Linked DNA regions of Homo sapiens: regions 2 and 3 are each linked to region 1. The links are contacts of gene promoters, found by promoter capture Hi-C in blood cells and fetal thymus (Javierre and others, 2016). All regions are on one chromosome and are shown on one strand. Each heading gives the region's core, a stretch centred on a gene start or on the middle of the fragment in contact. The rest is flanking DNA. Distances are from core to core; before and after follow the strand shown.

What was found. The method cuts DNA at HindIII sites, captures the fragments that hold promoters and counts their contacts. A CHiCAGO score of 5 or more calls a contact.
Region 2: a fragment that was not itself captured here is called in contact with the fragment with the promoter of KLF3 in region 1 in 10 of 17 cell types (total CD8 T cells, fetal thymus, activated CD4 T cells and 7 more); the score reaches 17.2 in total CD8 T cells.
Region 3: a fragment that was not itself captured here is called in contact with the fragment with the promoter of KLF3 in region 1 in 1 of 17 cell types (fetal thymus); the score reaches 5.1 in fetal thymus.

The regions. Positions count from the first base shown.
Region 1 is chr4:38,662,579-38,666,351 of GRCh38, forward strand. It overlaps KLF3 (KLF transcription factor 3), which reads left to right and starts at 1,621. Exons shown (of 6, transcript NM_016531.6): 1 at 1,621-1,883. It overlaps KLF3-AS1 (KLF3 antisense RNA 1), which reads right to left and starts at 2,315. Exons shown (of 16, transcript NR_171644.1): 1 at 2,216-2,315. RefSeq lists silencers at 522-1,041, 1,072-1,341, 1,352-1,951, 2,012-2,361 and a promoter at 1,081-1,883. The HindIII fragment of the contact is 3,872 bases long and covers 3-3,773 here.
Region 2 is chr4:38,129,913-38,133,685 of GRCh38, forward strand. TBC1D1 (TBC1 domain family member 1) reads left to right here. Exons shown (of 22, transcript NM_001396959.1): 21 at 3,172-3,345. Among named protein-coding and RNA genes, the nearest start is that of PTTG2, 170 kb to the left of the region's middle. RefSeq lists a silencer at 3,026-3,165. The HindIII fragment of the contact is 2,765 bases long and covers 439-3,203 here.
Region 3 is chr4:38,146,843-38,150,615 of GRCh38, forward strand. No RefSeq gene overlaps it. Among named protein-coding and RNA genes, the nearest start is that of PTTG2, 190 kb to the left of the region's middle. The HindIII fragment of the contact is 419 bases long and covers 1,471-1,889 here.

The DNA.
Region 1 (3,773 bases), core at 371-2,870:
GAAGCTTATGGGACAGCACGACGTCCCATGAGCCGGCGTCGGTTCTGGGTATCCTCCACGTGGCCTTTCCTGGACTTGCGTTATTTAAAATATGCGATTTCACTACTTGAGGTTACCGAGTACTAATTTTACAATACTGTGTAGCTACATGAAGCGGCTCGAAATATACTATTATCACTCCGTTTTAAGCAGCACGATGTCTGGATGAAGCATCAAAGCGAGATGGGTCAACTTAAAGGGCCTTTAAAACATCTTGAAGCAATAATAAGCCATACACTGAAGCAGGGGCGGTTTTAAACATTACACAGAACTTAAAACAATCGAACGAATTCGTCCTTTGTTCTTTTTATTACATTAATTATTACATTAATACTGTTTAAAAAGAAACTCAAAAGGCATTAAACTTAGGTACCAATCTACACAAAGTCCTCGAAGGGGCCTGGCTTGGACCGAACGCGCTTTTGTGCCGCCCCGCTCGCTCGCAGCACCCTGAAGGCCACTGAGCTTAGGGCGCTAGGTCCCTAGAAGCGACTTGAAATGAGGGGGTCGCCAGGCCAGGCCCTCGCTCTGCAGGGGAGGATCCGACCAAAGTTTGCCAAGTTTCCAGGCAAGCCCAACTGCGCAAATGCCGCTTTTTAGCTCCAGCGGCAGGCCTGGCCCGTGGGAGTTTTGCCCCAGGGGTCTCCGGGCCTTCAAAGAAAAGTCCCACGAGGTGGGGGGCGCCGCCTGGGCCGCCGGCCAGGGGGACCCGTCGCCCCAGGGCACAAAGAAAGAGCGCGCCTACAGGGTGTCCCCTGACCCCGGCGACTCGGGGCCAGGGAGGCTCGGCGCGCCCCAGCGGCCGCTCTTCCCCTCCCGAACCCGCCCGGCCCACTCGCTCCTGCACCGCGGCCGCCTCGGCTCGGCTTTTCTCTTGCAGTGAGCTGAGTGCGCTCAGCCGAGGAGGGGCCGCGCCGCGCCGCGCCGGCCGCGGGGCCCAGCCCTTCCCGCCGCGCCCGGGGCCGCCCTTCCCGCTGGAGCCGGCTGATCGATGGCCCTGGCAGCCCGCGCCCCCCGCCTCGGCTCGCCCGCGAGCCCGGCTGTGTGTTTTGGAAGCAGCGCAGCGGGCCGCAGCCGTGTGACGCCCGGAGCGGGCAGCGCCGCCCTTCCTTCCCCCCGGGCTCGGGCGGCGGCGCGGCGGCTGGGCCGGGCGGGAGGGCTGGCGGGGCGCGGACTCCGGGGAGGAGGGCGCGGGGAGGGGACGCGGGCGGGGACGCGGGCGGGGGGCGGAGGCCGCGCCGCGCACGCCCAGCCCCACGGCCGCGCCGCGCCTCGTGGGACAGGTTGGGCCGGCGGGGCGGCGCCCGGCTCCGGGGAATAATGAGTGTCTGTCAGGCCGTCCCCGGGTGACTGGGCGGGGCGGGGCGGAGGCGGCGCGGGAGGCGGGGGTGGCGGGGGAAGGGCGCAGGGCGGGGTGCGTGTTTGCGCGAGTGACTCGGCCGACCCCTCCGGCGGCTGCCTCCACCCAAGTGGGTGGGGACCCGCCCAGCCCGGGCGGCCGCGGCGGCTCCCTCTCCCCTCCCTGACCCTCCCACCCCGGGTCCCAGCCTCTACTTACCCCGCCAGCCCCGGGAGGCTCGCAGAGCGAGCGGCGCCGGCGTCATGTGACTGCCCGGAGTTGGTGCCAGGAGCCAGAGGGGAGCCAGGAGCGGAGCCGCGCGGAGCCGGGGCCCGAGCCGGAGCGCAGCGAGAGCGCCCGCCGCACGCGCGCCCGTCCCCGTCCCCTGCGGCCGCCAACGCCGCCCGGACTGGAGCCCTGACATTGCTGCGCTCGGGGGGCTCCAGGCAGCCCGTATCGGGGCCTTTATTTCTCGTCGGCGGCGCCCTGCACCGCGCCTCGCAAAGTAAGTCCCGTCTCCCTCACCTCTGCTCCGCACCCTGGTCCCTGCCGCCCCCCTCCTCGGCCAGTCTGGTTTCATTTTTTCTCCTGGAGGGGGCCGCGGGGAATGGGTCGGGGGTGCAGCGCTGGTGTTGGGGGGGGCGCCTGCGGGCTTGGGAAAGTGTGGCGGCTACACTTAGCCGGGGTGGGGGCGGAGAGCAAGCAAGGAGGAGGGGGTCACGGGTTCGCGGTGAAAAGTGAGGGGTTGAGGCGAGGCACCGTGCGGACCCCGGGTGCGGGGGAGCGGGGCTGGCAGCGCCCGCCGCCGTCCCGGGCAGGGCGCGGGCGGGGGCTCACCTGTGTGGTCCCCGGCCTCCTCCCGCCCGCTCACGATTCCCTCCAAAGCCCCAGAAATCTCCGTGCTCTCCGCGTGTGGCAACGTTGTTTGGAGAAAGGTAGCGCCGCGGCCGCGCGCTCCTGCTCCTCCCCCTCCCGGTGCCCCCCCACCACCACCACAACCCAGGCTCCCGCGTCCTTCCCCTCCCCTCCCTCCGCCCGCGCCCCCCGCCGCCCCCCTCCCAGGACACGGCGCGCGGCCGCTCGCCCGCCACAGCAAACTTGGAGCAGTCTCCCGGCCCTCTGGAAAGAAACTTAGGGCAATTGGGATTGGAGGCAGCATCCCATTCTCGGTTCTGGAGCCCAGGAGCTGCCAGGGCGTCTGGATCCTCCGGGGCAGGAGAAATGAGCTGGTCGGGTTTGGAGAGTCTTCCTGGGGGCATGGAGAGAACCTGCCGCAGTGCCTGGAGCAAGGATTGCAGCGTGGCTGAAGGCGGAAGACGCCTTAGGCAACTGCCTGCAGCCGAGCCTGATGGGGACCCAGGGACAGATCCCTGGATCAGGACCCATGGGACCTACCTAACATTTCCAAGTGGCTTTCTTAGAGATGGCAGATGAGATCTGGAATTGTCATATTCATTTTTTTGGGCAGATAGCTACTGACAAGGAGAAGCACTTTTCTGGTTTAAATTTTATAGCAGTATACAATAATACTAGAAGAATGTGAATGAGACTTATTTTTAATAAGTCAAGTTAAACGGAAATTGGAAATTGCTCACCTTCTTGTATTTCACTAAAATAAACATTTTACACTTAACCACTGAATTTCTTACTCAGAATTTATGTTTCCATTAATATCACCCAAGACATTTTAAATATATTGATTATATTCTCACAAGAGTCTGGTATATGGGAAAAAGTATGAAGTGGTATTCTGACAAGTACCTGAAATGTGCCAGCAAAATCAAGTGGGGAATAGGCCAGTTGTTCATTATAGGTTTTTCCACACAGCAGTTTTGTGCTATCCTTTTCTGTACGAATTTGAGGAGCATTTTTATAAGAGAAATTCATCTGGATGATCTGCCTCACCCTAGGGAAGAAGACTTGCTTTTAGGGGAAAAAACAATCTGCTAGCATTAATATCTACAAATTTTTTGGAGTTAGTAATAGTGTTTAAGGAAAGTGTCCACGAGTGATTTCTTCTGGTTTGAAAAGAGGTATGTTAGTTGACCTTAGGCTGTTAATAGAAACCTGAAATTAGATGTTCGATTAAATTAAACTCCCTAGAGAAACTGGTATCTTCATTTCTGCAGTCAGTGGGCTTTGCTGCAGAACTATTTATTAGAAGAAAAAAACCTAATGTACTATCGGTAAGTTCAATGATGATACATTGTAAAGAACATTTAGCTTGCATGAAAGGGAATGCAAGTACAAAAATCTCAACATGGGAATAACAAAGAAAAGTAACTGCTTAGACCACAAAACCTTGTCAGGTACAAAACGACAACAGAGTTTTGCAGAAAGCTATTGTTTTATTCACTGCAAAGTTTCTAAATTAAAACCCAATCTTCTTGTTGCT
Region 2 (3,773 bases), core at 571-3,070, 530 kb before region 1:
GCACATTGATTAGTGGCTGTTGGGAGACAATTTGGCGAAACATATCCCAAGCCAGTAAAATATTCATACCCTTTGACTCAGTCATCCCGTTTCTTGGAATGTATCCTCAGGAAATAATCCAAAATATGAGGGAAGCCATATGTATAAGGTTATTCTCCTAGACTTGTCACTTATAATAACAGAAACTTGGAACTAGATGTCTAACACTTGATGACTGGATTAATATGATGATGGTAGGTTGAGCTGGTAGAATATCATGAAGCCAGTTATATATAGCGACATGAAAAAGCTCTTATTTGATACAATGTTAAGTAAAGGAAAAGTGGGATAGGAAATTTTATGTTGGTTATGTTTAGAACTAGAAAAACATGCTTTTAGGAAATAGGAAATATAGCTAGATATAAAAGTTGTATTTGGTGATTTTTCTTTTATTTTTCAAGCTTCCAATAATGTAGCTCTATTGCTTCAGTAACTTAAAATAGTTTTATCTTTTCGGCAAAACATCGAAAGTATGGAAATAGTCATTCCTACTTTGGCAAACAGAAGAGAAATTTTCTTCAGTACCAAAATTCTGGAACTTGACTGAAAACTATGAAGAACCTAAGAGCCAGGATGACAGGAAGGCTCTAGATCCCCAGTAATTACAACTCTAGTGGAATTGCTCTGAGATGGGCCAGCAAGAAAGAAGATGAGAGCCAGTCCCCCTTGCAGAGGGGCCAGGTACCTTGCAGCTTTGTGTAGTGACCAGTGCTCAGGGAACGGCTTAGGCAAGACCCTGGGGGAGGTGGGCACTGCACTTGTCCAGCCTCAGGAGTGACTCAGACCAGAAATGAAAACACCTTAAAGTGTATATATCTTGTTTTCCTATCAACACCTAGTTTTTAATATTCGTCTGTTTTATTCATCTGAGACAACATACCAAAGGATTGGGTTTTTAATGTTAGGCCTTCCTGCTCTTTCTCTGGCTGAGAACTGCTCCTGGCAGTGGATCACTTGTGCTGTCTAAGTGTGCAAGGACAGGCGCCCCTCCCAATTCTTTTCTTTCCCCAAGTAATTAGCCCAAGGGCTGAAGCCCTCGTTCAGTGACCAGGGTTCTCCTTTGACCACCAGCCTCATATTGCCATGGTTTGGGGTAAATTCAGGGGCATAACTGCAGAATGAAGGGCCTAGGAGTCTTGGCAGTCAGGAGATCATCAGGCAATTAAGCAGAGATGATTGTGACCCAGGGTGGTTCCTAGGGATTAATGGAGGCCTGGAAGAGTTTATGGCTTTGGGTACTGCTGAGAGCCATTAACTTAACACAGAACATCAATCCGTAGGAAAAGCCAGAGGTTTTGTTCCCAGGCTTTCCAGGTTAGGAGATCACTTAAATCTTTGTGAAAGAAAAAAAGTAATAGTGTACATGACATTTATTCAGCACCATATTTATAATTATACATGAGTGCCAAACAATCTCAGTTTTAACATTTGTGGTTTTTACTGTTCAGACTATTCAGAAGTTCCATGACGTGGCATCCATTGATGATGGTTTTGCTGAGGTTGAAATGTGAGGGTTTTGTGGCAGGTGTGTGGAAGCAGATCCCTTAGCTAAGAGAGCGCCTGCTCAACCTGCCAGGCGTGTGCTGGGAACTTCCAGGAGTTGCCTCGTTTAATTCTCACAGCCATCCTGGGAGGTAGGCGCTGTCTGCCCCAGGTGGGAGGCCAGGAACTGTGGCTGAGAGAGGTTAAGTACCGAGCTCAAGTCATTCATAGAGTCGCCAGTGGAGCCGCAATTTTAAGGCTGACTCAAAGCCTCTGAGCCAGTTACCTCGGCTGTCAAATGGAGATAATAATCCCTGCTGACCTCACGGTCGCTCTGAAGGACAAAAGAGAATCAGTTCAATCCAGTAAACAATTCTCTCTCTCCCTCTTACTCCCCTCGCACACATGCACACACACCCCACAGATATAATGGATTTTAGTTTTTAGGCATCAAATGACTTTTGTGCCTTATTAATATTATCCACTGAATCAAAAACAGCAAGCTGAAAAATTCATCTCAAGGAAGAGAAAATAAGATTGTTGGGAATGGTGAGAAAGGAAACATGGTTTTTGAAAATTGATTCCAGGGAAGATAGGCTAGTTTGAATGCCAGTAGGGAGCCATCAGAAGAAGTAGTTTTACACTGATTTTTAACAATATTGGAGTTGCTTAAGGCAATGCAATAGAGAGGCAGTTTCTGCCCTTTTAAAGCCTGACTTCACTTTCTGAATGTGTGTTCTGATCTAGCAGGGTTTTTTTTTTTTTTCTTTTAAGATGGTCCCAGCTTGACTGCATTCTCAGATCCATCAGATAAACGTTAGGGCTTCACTGCTGTGCTGAGAGGCCCCAGCCCCTGGGGTTCTCTCATAGAAACAACTGGAAAGAAAGGAAATGCCTTGGGCAGCAGCAGCAGCAGCTGTCTTCTGATTCTGCTTTCCGCCCTGCCTTCCTTACCAAGAGAAAGTACAGACACGGACGGCTTGAGTCACTTAGGCACTTAGGAGTTGTTTTTCACACGTGTGGTGTTTTCGTCACCATTACTATTGTGGGAAAGAAGACAACTCAGGCATCGTTTCGTATTCACTCATCTGTGTGGGTGACATGTGGGTTTTGGCTCATTTCTGCATATTTGTGTGCAAAGGAGAGTTTTTTAGTAAACAGTCCCATTACTTAGCTGTTCTTGTAACTCTGAAAACCCAACTGAACTATAATTAAACTTTGACTTGGTGACTCTGCAAACAGGCTATGATTCTTTTGTTTCTTTTCTCCTTTTAACCCATAGTTGATGTATCTAACCTAACAGAATTTTCAGAGAAAAGAAGTGAAATAAGAACTAAAAATAAATTTTTATGTCTTTAAAAATGAGAGGTTTTTTTTTTTTTTTTGGCTTTTGGAAGGTGAGTATCAAAAACCTGTACTTAATGTTACCTTGGAATTATTTCTAGATGTTTCTTATATCCTTTTGTCCCAAGTAAAATTATTACCTTCTCAGTGCGTAGTTTTTCTTATTTATTACTTCTAGTACCAAGTGTAGAGCTAAGCGTAGAGGAGACGCTTCACAGGTGCGCATTGTCGTGATTGCAGACGCCTGCCTGTACTTGTGGGGTTTTTCTCAGTTTTAGTACGTGATGACTTTTCTTTCTATAACAGGTATTTGAAATGGACATCGCTAAACAGTTACAAGCTTATGAAGTTGAGTACCACGTCCTTCAAGAAGAACTTATCGATTCCTCTCCTCTCAGTGACAACCAAAGAATGGATAAATTAGAGAAAACCAACAGCAGCTTACGCAAACAGAACCTTGACCTCCTTGAACAGTTGCAGGTAGAGCATATTTATAAAGCAGCTTCCTGAATCACAAATATATGGTAGTTCATTAACTCACCAAAGGCAACAGCAGGCTGGGCTTTCCCATGACCAGAGGACCTTTCCCACCCTGATCTGTTTATAGTTGGGATCAAAGGTATCCCGGGAGAATGGGTCCTTTTTATTATGGAGCAGACAGATTGTCCTTTGCTAAGGTCAGGCAGTCCCAGAGCTTTCTGAGAGGCTGTTTCTGCACTTAACTCTTTTAGGGGACAGGCCCAGAGATGAACTTGGATTCAGGATGCCGTGGCCTGTTAGCTGAATGCCAGCCGTTGTCATTACTCAAAGAGAATCTAAGAGCTTTTAACTTCTATGAGCAAAACCAGCTAGGTCCACAGAGGGATGGTAAAGGAGGAAAGTAACACAGAAATAAATATAACAAACCA
Region 3 (3,773 bases), core at 430-2,929, 520 kb before region 1:
TGTGTTAAGGATGCCAGAAAATCCTACAGTAAAAAAAAAAAAAACCAACAACCAACAACCTAGTTTCCACCTTTTCAGTATGTGGTCTTTCTAAAAGATATCTTTCCTTGATATGTTGCATGTGCTAAAGACTTGCACACACAACAGAAACATACAAAACAAAGTTTTCCAAAGTCCCCTCAACCTATATCCTACTTCCCAAAAGTAATCACTTAGCAGTTTCTTATCTCTTCCTCCAAAAATTGATATGCATACTACAGGATGAATTGATATGCATACTACAGAATGTATGTATGTGTGTGTGTTTATACAGATATTCTTTTTTTTTCACATAAATGATAACACTATACACACTAATCAGTTACCTTGCTCTTTAAAAATATCTTGGGAATATTTTCATATCAGTACATGTAGATAATGATAGAAATAATAGTTCACACTCATAAAGAGATAACTAATGAATGAGCCAAGTACTGATGAGTACTGTGTAAGTTTGTTTCATTTAATCTCAAAACTATAGGAGAGGTACCATTATTATCCTAATTTATAGTTGGGGAAGCTATCTAAAGAGGTCATGCCTACTGCCCAAGGCCACCAAGCCCAGCAGTTCAGACTCAAGAGCCCATGCTCTTGACCACTGCCACTGCAGTATACAAATCCACTCCAGTCTTTTTTTTTCTTTTATCTTTTTTTTTTTTTTTTTTTTTTGAGATGGAGTCTCACTCTGTCACCAGGCTGGAGTGCAGTGGCATGATCTTGGCTCCCTCCACCTTCCCAGCTTCAAGCAATTCTCCTGCCTCAGCCTCCAGAGTAGCAGGGACTACACGCCCAGCTAATTTTTGTATTTTTAGTAGAGACAGGGTCTCACCACATTGGACAAGATGGTCTCGATCTCTTGACCTCATGATCTGCTTGCCTTGACCTCCCAAAGTGCTGGGATTACAGACATGAGCCACTGCGCCCGGCCCACTTCACTCTTCAACACCTGAACATAATATTTCTGTGCTTGGATGCACCACAACGTATTGAACCAGGTTCACACTGATGGACATTTGAGTTTATCTGCCTTGAGCATATCTGCACATAATACCTTTGTGAATCTGTAAATGTATCTGAAAGATAAATTCAGTGAATCACAGCAGCAAAGAGCACAAACTGAAGTCCTGATCCCCATCCCCTCAGATCAACCCTGTCCCCCACAGATCTCCGTGTTGGTCAATGGCACTGTCATTCACTCAGTTGCTTAGTTGACCCCTTTCTTTTTCTCATATCCTACATCCAGTCCATCAAACACATCCTTTCTACATCCCCTCAGTCTGTTCTTCACACAGCATCCAAAGTGGACCTTTCAAAACAAATCATGTCACTACCCTGCTTTAACCAAACTCTAGTGGTTTCCCATCACATTAAAACAAAGTGTTAAGTACTTATGAGGCCCTGAAAGGCTGGCAGTTGTTGGGATGCAATTTAAGCTTCTGCACAGCCACTCAAAATAGAGTTGCTCAAACAAAATAGCAACTTCTCAAACCTTTATAGCAGTCCAGAGGGCAGGTGGGCCATTTGGGATGGAGAGTGTTTCTGTTCTACAAGGCCAACTGAAGACCCAGGTTCCTTCTGTCTTCTTACTCCTCCAACATCCAGGGCAGTAGTTCTCAACTAGGGGTAATTTTGTTCCCTGGGGTACATTTGACAATGTCTGGAGACATTTTTGGTTTTAACAACTGGGGAATGAAGAAGGGTGTGTGTTAGTGTCATCTAGTGGGTAGAGGCCAGAGATGGCTGCTAAACATCCTACAATACTTTGAACAGCCTCCGCAACAAGTTATCATGGGTCCAAAATGTCAGTATTGCTGATGTTGAGCAACCCTGTTCTTGGGCAGTGGTTTTGAAGCTTGAGTCCCCTGGAGGGTTTCTTAAAATACAGATGGCTGGGCCCCACCCCCAAGGTTTCTGATTCAGTAGTTCTGGAGGGGGGCCTGAAAATTTGCATTTTGGTAAGTTTCCCGATGATGCTGAGGATGCAGGTCCAAGGACCACACTTTCTTTAAGAAACTCTGCCCTGGAGACTTTGCCTTGTCCACAGGGAAGAAATAGGCTTACCAGCACCAGGTCTTTGCTCTGCCTGTGAGAAAGGATAAAAGAGAGGGGAACATTGCCCATTTATTGCCCGTTGCCCATTTTATAAATACAGAACCAAGAAGTAGCAGAAACCATTTCCATCCATGGTCCATTAGCATGAACTCACTGATGTAGCCACACCAAGTGGCACAAGAGCCTGGGAGATAGGGTCTCAATGTGAGCCCCACAAAGATGGGGGATTTTGGCTGGGCATGGTTGCTCATGCCTGTAATCGCAGCACTTTGGGAGGGTGAGGCGGGTGGATCACCTGAGGTCAGGAGTTCGAGACCAGCCTGGCCAACATGGTGAAACCCTGTCTCTACTAAAAATACAAAAATTAGCCGGGCATGGTGGTGGGCGCCTGTGGTCCCAGCTACTCGGGAGGGTGAGGCAGGAGAATCACTTGAATCTGGGAGGCGGAGGTTGCAGTGAGCCGAGATCGCGCCACTGCACTCGATTGCCAGCCTGGGCAACAGAGCGAGACTCCGTCTCAGGAAAAAAAAAAAAAAAGATGGGGGGATTTTATTACAAAGGGAAGAAGGGAATGTGGATATTAGAGACAGTTCACAGTCTCTGCTGAAAGGCTCTGCCAAGATCTGCCCCCACCCCTCCTTGCTCTCAGACCTTGCTTCCTACCTCTCCTCCTCACTTACTGCAACTCTCTGGCCTCTGCTCTGCTGACAACCCCCATGCTCCCTCTCAGGGCATCTGCACTCATTGCTCCATCTGCTTTGGAAGCTCCTGTCCTGGTCAGACATTTGGTTTGTTTCCTCACTTCACTGTGGTCTCACCTTGTCTAATAGGCAGCCCCTGCCCCCTCTGCCCTGTACTCTCTATCCAGCCCTGTCCATGCTAATTACTGCTCTCTGACAGTATAGTCCATGTTTGGTTGCTTATCTGTCTGTCCCTGCCACAGGAAAGTAAGATTTGTGAGGAAAGGGTCTTACTTCCTCACTGTTGTTATATCTTGGGCAGCACTTGGACATAAGAGGCAATCAGATATTCAGTAAACAAATGAAAGTGCATCTTTCATTTTTGACAGACGCTGCCAGATTGGTGTTTAGAATGTAAATCCATGAGCCTGCTCAACCCTCATTAATATGGAATATTTTCTTTGAGCTTCTTGTGCCCAGTGTGGTTGCAAATAGGCCTTGCGGGCCTGGAACATTCATCACTCGCCTCTGCCTCGCTGGGGTGGCCTCATCTCCCCAGGTTCCTTGAAGCTGCACTTCCCAGCTGGGATGTGAGCCAGAGGAAACAAGGGGGTCTGGCTGCAAATCCTTCTAAGGAGGGGACCCCACCTCTCAGAGGAGTGTGTGATGGTCACACCCATTTAACGTGATAGCCCAATCAAGGGAGAGGCCATAGATTCATCTGATTTAGCCCCCCAGAAAAAAATCATATCCTTATCTAAACTATCTTGACTTACAAGATTCTTAATGGCTCAAAAGTGCTTTATCAGCTCAAGCTGATCTAAGAAAATAAACATTTCATAATTGTGATAATACAAGTGGCTCCAGACGAAAGAACAGCTCAATCCTGATGGATGGTTCTTATAAATAAACCAGGCAATCACACACTGCAGAAATAACTAGAATTTCTATGACTTCACGGGGAGCCAAATGGAAATGCCCTTGCCAAGTGAATGCTAAAGT